3 separate regions of the Homo sapiens genome follow, and regions 1 and 2 are each linked to region 3. The links are contacts of gene promoters, found by promoter capture Hi-C in blood cells and fetal thymus (Javierre and others, 2016). All regions are on one chromosome and are shown on one strand. Each heading gives the region's core, a stretch centred on a gene start or on the middle of the fragment in contact. The rest is flanking DNA. Distances are from core to core; before and after follow the strand shown.

Region 1 (2,700 bases), core at 57-2,556, 530 kb after region 3:
ATTTTCTTCCATTTTCAGACAAAAACGACTCTTTAACTGAGGGTATTATGTTTCTGATGTGCTTTTTTAGTTGCTATTTTTATGTAGGTTAAAAAAAGACATTTGATGATGTCTCGTAAGTATTTTTCCAACTTATACAAAGCTTTTCATGTAATAAAAACATCATTACGACACTATCAAAGACAATGAGCTTATTAATGAGTGTCAGGGATTTTGCTAATTTTTGGAGTTTGTATCAGTTGTATGATCTCTGCCTTAAAAATCTGATTTAGTATTAAAATGCTTTTTTCAATAATTAGTTGTAGCAAATTTAAACTTGTGAGTTTATATATTTTTTTTCTCTTGGTACTATGATTCTGGAGTTGATGATGTAATAGAATCATAATGGTAATTTACTAAAAGCTTGAATCACTGAATCTCAAAGAATTAAACACCAAGCTGAATGGGAAAATCAAAATAAAAGTTACTGTGTATTTCAAGATTACTTGAGAGATTTTTTAAATGAGAAGCTAGAAAGCAGATATCTCAAGCGATTTAAGTAGAATTATGTGAAACAAATAAATAACTTTCAGTATACCATTTCTTTTTAAGTCAGAGAAGCAGAGAAACTAAATACATGGACATTGGATAGGCCATCTTTAAATGAGAAGTCAGAATTTATGTTTCCTAATGAAATTTAAAGATTTAATAGAGATATTTAAATTCCAACTAAAATTATTTCTGTAGGCAGAGCCTATCACAATTGCTGAAATTATAGCTAGGAAATTAGCAAATGCCCTATCATACAGTAATTTATCTTTCCATTTTTTTGATGATATGGAAAATGAAACTTTTTAATCTTTAAGTTTCCATTAATTGATTGCATATTATAGAACTTTTATAAATATGATTCTTACATTAGACTATGAGGTAGATATTATATCTTTGTTTTACAGAAAAGAAAATTGAGGATCAGAAAATACGCACAATTTGCAAAAACCATGGGTGAGTAGATGGCAGAGTGTAGATTTGAAAGCAGTGTTGACTTTAAGCCTGTGCCTCCAGTAACCTTCCCATGATACACAGTCACCATTCAAAGAATATTTGTTGAGGGAGTGATTTTTTTTAACAGGATTAAAAATATAAAACAAGAAGGAGGAGGTATGAGGCAGCTATCTAAATCCATCCTTCCGCTGCAGATTTTAAAGCCTTTTTCCTTTTCCATCTTGCCTGCCTAATTATTTTATCATTTTAACACATTGATATATTCAGTGACTAATCCTTTACTGCCTTGCAAATATGTTACAAGCATTTTCTAAGTCCTAGAATTGAAAAGTAATGATTACTTAAAAAAAAAAAATCAGTGACTTCATTCAGGAAAATCCACTGGTATCCAGGCCGGTGGATTCAGGCTCAGCAGTAAGGTCTTGCTTTTTGTCTTCTTTGCTTTCTTCTCTAAAACATTTTTTCAAATTGAGAAATTTTAAAAACCGTGTCTATTTATGGTGCACAATATGATGTTTTGAAATATGTGTACATTGTGGAATGGCTACATCAAGCTAATTAACATGTACATTACCTCAAACAGTTTTCATTTGTTTGTAGTGAGAATATTTAAAATCTCTGAGCAATTTTCAAGTATACGACACGTTGCTGTTAACCAGAATCACCATGTTGTAGAATGGATATATTGAACTTGTTCCTCCTGTCGAACTGAAATTTTGTATGGTTTAACAATCCCCTATTTCCCCCCCCACCTCCAGTCCTTGGTAACCACCATTCTACTCTCTGCATCTATGAGTTTGACGTCTTTATGTTCCACATCATGAGATGTTTTGAGATAATGTGGTATTGCTCTTCCTCTGCCGGCCTTATTTCACCCAGCATAATGTCCTCCAGGTTTATTCATGTTGTCAAGAATGATAGATTTTTCTTTTCTTTAAGGCTTTACTTATACCACATTTTCTTTGTCATTTATCCCTTGATGGACAGAGGTTATTCCATATCTTGGCTATTGTGAATATTGCTATAGGGAACATGGGAGTGCATATAGCTCTCTGACATCCCAATTTTTATTTTATTTCCCCTTCTTTTAAGCATTTCTTAAAGTTCTCACCTTCACCTTTTATTATTCGAAAGAATTGTGAGTAGCAGTTGTGTGGTTCAAGAGCACACTGCAGTCTTCCTTGTGTTCATCTATATTATCTGGGATATTTTGTTAGTTCTGGTCTGCAAGCTTCAAGGCTTATTGATAGTTTGAGTCACCAAATAGCCAATAAGACCTTATGGGTTATAGAATAAACATTCAGACTCCTTTTTCTGGTCTTTATCATCCTTCGTAGTATAGTCCCAGTCTATTTCTTTAAATTTATCTCCCTCTATTTCCATAAATATTCTCTATCCTAAACTCATTGCCTAATTAATTCTTGAACATGCCACATGCATTCCCATGCTGCACTTTTGCTAAAACCAATCCTCAGCCTGGAATTCCCTTTCTACTCCTCTGCCAATCCAATCCTTTTTTTGCACATCCAATTCAAGTTCCACCTCTTCCCTAAAGATAGTATTTTTTTCTTGGTGGCATTTATTTAGTTTTCAGAATATGCAATTTATATTATTATTATAGCTTTTGCTCTCAGATCTTTTTTGCTATAAAAATATTTATTTATTTTTATTGATACACCATAGCTGTACATATTTTTAGGGTACATGTAATAATTT
Region 2 (2,700 bases), core at 45-2,544, 580 kb after region 3:
ATCGGGTCCCCCAGAGAGCCAAGCTGAGAGTCAAGCTGAGAAATAAGCCTGTGCTAGCCAATTTACTACAAGCTCCACTGAACAATGACTGTGACATCAGTTCAGGGACAAATAGTGGTGGTGGCCCACTCCTGGTTTTTCAGGATGGGGTTTCTCCACTCTGGCTGCATGGCTGGGTCACTACGGGAGCTTAAAGGAGTTTCCTCTGCATGGTCTACACAGAGGATTCTGAGTTAATACTTTTTGATGGGGCTGGAGCATCGCTAGCTTTGACAAACTCTTCTGGTGATTTCCATGTGCCCCCAGGGTTGCGAACCACTTTTTAGGGACTTCTGAGGCTCTGAACTAGTGGTTGTTGAAAGTGCTAATGTGTCCTGTAGAAAAACACTTTCAGGCCGGGCGTGGTGGTCCATGCCTGTAATCCCAGCTCTTTGGGAGGCCGAGGTGGGGTGGACTGCTTGAGGTCAGTAGTTCAAGACCAGCCTAGCCAACATGGTGAAACCCCATCTCTACTAAAAATACAAAAATTAGCCGGACCTGGTGGGACACGCCTGTAATCCCAGCTACTCAGGAGGCTGAGTCAGAAGAATCACTTGAACTCCGGAGGCGGAGGTTGCAGTTTGCTGAGATCACACCACTGCACTCCAGCCTGGGCAACAGAGCAAGACTCCATCTCAAAAAAAAAAAAAAAAAAAAAAAAAAAAAAGGAAAAGAAAAGAAAAACACTTTTCATCATATAAATTAATCTTACTACTTTAGCAAGAGCCCCAGAAAGATATAGCAGTGGTTAAAAAGGTGATATATAGAGGAATTCCAGTATCTACTTTTCTGTTGTGAAGTCAGAGGGACAGAAACCTAGTGCTTATATGCACAGCAACGTGGGAGGCAGATGTGGGAAAAAGTCTGGGATTCCAGTTTTCATTTCAGCTTAGAAGCTCCTTAGCAGTGAAGCTGTCAGTCTGTCCACTTTCAAATCTTGTAAGTCATGAAATCGCTCATTGCAACCTGGTGTTATTTTTTTCTCCCTCCCTCTTTGCCTCCCCCCTCCCTCCTTCTTTCCCTCCCTCCTTCCCTCCTTCCTTCCTTCCTTCCCTCCCTCCTTCCCTCCTTCCTTCCTTCCCTCCCTCCTTCCCTCCTTCCTTCCTTCCTTCCCTCCCTCCTTCCCTCCTTCCTTCCTTCCTTCCTTCCCTCCGTCCCTCCTTCCTTCCTTCCCTCCCTCCGTCCCTCCCCCTTTCCCTTTCCCTCTCTCCCTCTCTCCCTCCCTCTCTCTCTCTGTCCCTCCTTCTCTCCCTCTCCCCCTTTCTTTCTTTCTTTCTTTCTCTCTCTCTCTTTCTCTTTCCCTCCCTCCCTCCCTGCCCCTTTCCCTTTCCCTCTCTCCCTCTCTCTCCCCCTCTCTCCCTCCTTCTCTCCCTCTCTCTCTCTTTCTCTTTCTTTCTCTTTCTTTCTTTCTTTCTTTCTTTCTTTCTTTCTTTCTTTCTTTCTTTCTCTCTCTCTTTCTTTCTTTCTCTTTCCCTCCCTCCCTTCCTTCCTTCTTTCCCTTCCTCTGTCCCTCCCTCCCTCCTTCCTTCCCATCTTCCTTTCTCAAAGTCTATAATTTAAATGTTAATTGCATCTATAAATACCTTTACAGAAACATCAGTACTGTTTGTAGGCTAAATGTCTGGGCACTGTAGCCTCACTAGTTCCTCATGGAGGTATAAGTAATGTTCAGGGGTCAGTGCCTCTGGCCCAGTGATGGTGGTCCGTTTGAGAAGGGCCCTGCAGTGCTCGACCAATAAGGCAGCCTTCCCGGGTGTGCACCTACAGGCTTTTAAGTCACATTATTAATGGTGTGATCAGACCCACGGCAGGTCTACCCCTGGAATAATAAAGAATGCTGAAAGATAGAGGGAAATGAAAATGATAATGGAGGATTAGGGAATAATATTTCAATCAAATATAAATAAAATCGGCTTCTTCCTTGGACTCTTTTTTTTTTTTTTCTTTTTTTATTTTTAAAGACAAAACCTTTTTTTCAAATAGGGAAACTCAATTCTAGTAGACCATAGTGGCTGGCAACCTATTTTGAGAGAGATGGTTTGGAAGAAGAGCAGCTTCCTTAGGCCAGAACGAGAACCGCGCTGAAGCTAACAGGAGAGGTCTGAGGGCCGCAGCGCGGGGCCCGGCGGGCTGGGCAGTATGCTCCTCTCCAGCCTCAGGGGTGTGCAGGCTGGCTTGGCCATAACCACCAGAGGAGGAGCCGGTGGGAGACTGGGTCAGCTCCTACCTCCCGGGTCTATAAGCAGAAAACGTGGCTCACAGAAAACCACAGTGAAGCCGAGCCCCTTCCTGGGAGCTTTCCCTGCCCAGTGGTTGAGCTCTGGGGACTGGAACGGATGCTGTGGGTCCAGGACTGAGACAAGGTCCCTGGGGACGGGAGTGGTCCCTAGTGGTAGAAGTGGGGACTACACCCAGAATTCTACCCAGGTGAACTGGAAGAGAAGCCCCCTGGGCAAGCAAATATGCCTTTTTTTTTTGTAGCCTCACAAAGGGTTACTAGGTTTATTAGGGTGAGGATGCAATGAATTTTAAAATATCAGACCAAAATTTTTATAATCAGTAATTCATACTCACTGTGGTTCCCATACCAAGAGCCAAGAGCAGAGACACCACTTTCAGTAGTAGTGTGTGGGTTTGGGGAAAAGGGAAAGGAAAGCAACC
Region 3 (2,700 bases), core at 96-2,595:
ACATTATTAGAAAATTCACACTCAATTAGGAAGAGTGGTTTGAGGTAGAAGTTGGTGGTTTTTTATTTCTTTAAAAAAAAATATTGGCCAGGCACGGTGGTTCATGCCTGTAGTACCAGCAGTATGGGAGGCCAGGGTGAGTGGATCACTTGAGCCCAGGAGTTCAAGACCAGCTTGGGCAACATGGCAAAAACCCCATCTCTACAAAAAAATAAATTAACCAGGTGTGGTGGCGTATGCCTGTAGTCCCAGCTACTCAGGAGGCTGAGGTGGGAGGATCGCTAAGCCTGGGAGGCGAAGGTTGCAGTAAGCCAATATCGCGCCACTGCACTCCAGTCTGGCTGACAGAGACAGTGTCAAAAAAAAAAAATCTTCGAGAAAATCCATTTGAAACAAGGAATGAAATTTAAAATTTGCATATATAAACACGTATACATATACATATCATGTATATACATAGGATTATGAGAAGTAGTAATGTTCTAAAAGTGAGTATGCATATTTTTAAAAATTTCTGTAAAGTTGCACTTGTAAGGAAATTCCTAGGTGTTATTTCCTAAGACGTAAAAGCAGTGTATACATCCTTGAAGCTAAACTTTTCTGAGATCTTAAATTCTCCCAGTGTTTGATATATGAGTACTCATGTCTCCAGCAAATTAACCTGAACTTAAAGAGCTTCCTGATAGCTTCTTAGTTGGGGGGTGGGAGTGCAGAGAATAAAAGGAAATTCATTGAAGAATAAAAGATAATTTCTTGAGAAACCTGCTCATCGGGACCCTGTTAACATCCAAATATCCCAAATATCATGCCACACTATTCTTCCCAGAATTAATTGTCAAGGACTGAGAAGGACAGGAGAACCTAATGCTATTTCAGGCTCTCTTGACAGACCAAGGAACAGTGAGGCATAAACTGGGGTCCCCGTGGGTCACAGGCAAGAGGTGGAACCCAAGATTCAACTCCCTTCTTGGAACCATCTACCTGGGGACTCCCTCTGGTTCTGTGGCTGGGAAGAGGGATGCCCATCAGCCTTCCCGGAATTCCGGGGGCACCCACAGGCCCTTACCTGCCTGGCAGCCAGGCACCATGATGAACGTGAGCAGTCCCCACATCAGCAGGTATGAATCCATCTTCCTGACCCTTGGGACCAGCCGGGGCAGTGAAGCGGAGGTCTTTCTCTGCAGAAGGCCCAGTTGCCGTCAGCCTCTTTTTGGCATCGCGCCGGAGGATGTGGGATGGGAAGATCGGTCCGCCTGGGCTGTCACCCTTGTGGGTCCATCCAGTCTCTATCGGAGTCAGGAGTTGCTCTCTTTAAGTATTGGGCTGGCGTGTTCAGCCAGGAAACTGCCTAGCACTCTCTTCTCTCATCTCAAATATAGGAAGTGTTTTTTTTTTTTTTTTTTTTTGATGACAATATAGTTTGCGGTAATTTTTCAAACCAGGTTTTTTTTTTCAAGTTCAATTGCTGGAGGTGTGGGCTGGGGTTGATGAGAAGGATTGAACTTCATTTATGAATCCTTTCTTCAGCTACGCCCATAAAAGGAGAGGGAGATTCCCCTGCCGTTGAAGGTAGGGTGAGCAAGCACTTCTTGGCAGTGGTCTCACCCAGCACTTCATAAGCTGAGTCCTCCCCTCAGGGCTGTAACGTCCTCAGGAGTCAGCCGGGACCACCTGGGATGAAGGAGCAAAGTCCTGACAAGATTCTGGTCAGGCAGCCTCCAATATTCAAATAATGGAGAAGGATGCGGCGAACTGAAGGATCCTGAGAATTCATAAATAATTCCCCAAGGCTTATAACCTGTACTAGCCATCATCATTTCACCACAGTGCCCTGGGCTCCTGAAAGTGCATTGTCATTTTATAAGGTGTTTTGCTTCCAGATTTCTTTCTCTTAAAGGATCATGCAAAAAGTGGGCTTTGGTTTTAAACTTTGGATTATTTTGTAAAATTCAGTCTTGCTTATTTATTGATCAGAGCTCTCTTCTGATTATTATGAAATGGTTGAGTGTGTTTTGCTCCCTGGAAATTTGTCTAAGACTTAAAGCCATTGCATAGTTAGAGCAAAACACAATTTTTTAAATACTAGAAAGCAAGCAAAGATATTAACAAAAAGAAAACCCTCCGGGCAAGCCAAGGAATTCAGGGTTCCAAAACACATCACGTTGACTGGGCCTGGTGGCTCATGCCTGTAATCCGAGCACTTTGGTAGACCAAGGTGGGTGGATCACCTGAGGTCAGGAGTTTGAGACCAGCCTGGATGACATGGTGAAACCACCGTCTCTACTAAAAAAAAAAAAAAAAAAAAAAAAAAAAAAAAATTAGCCAGGCGCAGTGGCACACGCCTGTAATTCCAGCACTTTGGGAGGCTGAGGCAGGCAGATCACCTGAGGTCGGGAGTTTGAGACCAGTCTGGCCAACATGGTAAAACCCCATTTCTACTAAAAATACAAAAATTAGCCAGGCGTAGTGGCGGGCGCCTGTAATCCCAGTTACTCAGGAGGCTGAGACAAGAGAATAGCTGGAACCGAGGAGGTGCAGGCTGCAGTGAGCTGAGATTGCGCCACTGCACTCCAGCCTGGGCGACAGAGTGAGACTTCCATCTCAAAAAACTTGTCAAAATATGACAAGATTCTCTTAAATTCCACAGCAGGTATAACTTCCTCTCTAGGAACGTTTCTCACTCTGCGGGCAAGTGCTCCA

The links. Contacts are between HindIII fragments. The CHiCAGO score rates a contact against its expected background, and 5 or more counts as called.
Region 1: a fragment that was not itself captured here is called in contact with the fragment with the promoter of IL2RA in region 3 in 2 of 17 cell types (activated CD4 T cells and non-activated CD4 T cells); the score reaches 6.0 in activated CD4 T cells.
Region 2: a fragment that was not itself captured here is called in contact with the fragment with the promoter of IL2RA in region 3 in 1 of 17 cell types (activated CD4 T cells); the score reaches 5.4 in activated CD4 T cells.

The regions. Positions count from the first base shown.
Region 1 is chr10:6,595,911-6,598,610 of GRCh38, forward strand. No RefSeq gene overlaps it. Among named protein-coding and RNA genes, the nearest start is that of PRKCQ-AS1, 17 kb to the left of the region's middle. The HindIII fragment of the contact is 1,813 bases long and covers 401-2,213 here.
Region 2 is chr10:6,645,697-6,648,396 of GRCh38, forward strand. No RefSeq gene overlaps it. Among named protein-coding and RNA genes, the nearest start is that of LINC02648, 28 kb to the left of the region's middle. The HindIII fragment of the contact is 5,986 bases long and covers 1-2,700 here.
Region 3 is chr10:6,061,022-6,063,721 of GRCh38, forward strand. It overlaps IL2RA (interleukin 2 receptor subunit alpha), which reads right to left and starts at 1,346. Exons shown (of 8, transcript NM_000417.3): 1 at 1,067-1,346. The coding sequence starts at 1,130. RefSeq lists an enhancer at 1,057-1,106 and a cis regulatory region at 1,099-1,729. The HindIII fragment of the contact is 7,385 bases long and covers 1-2,700 here.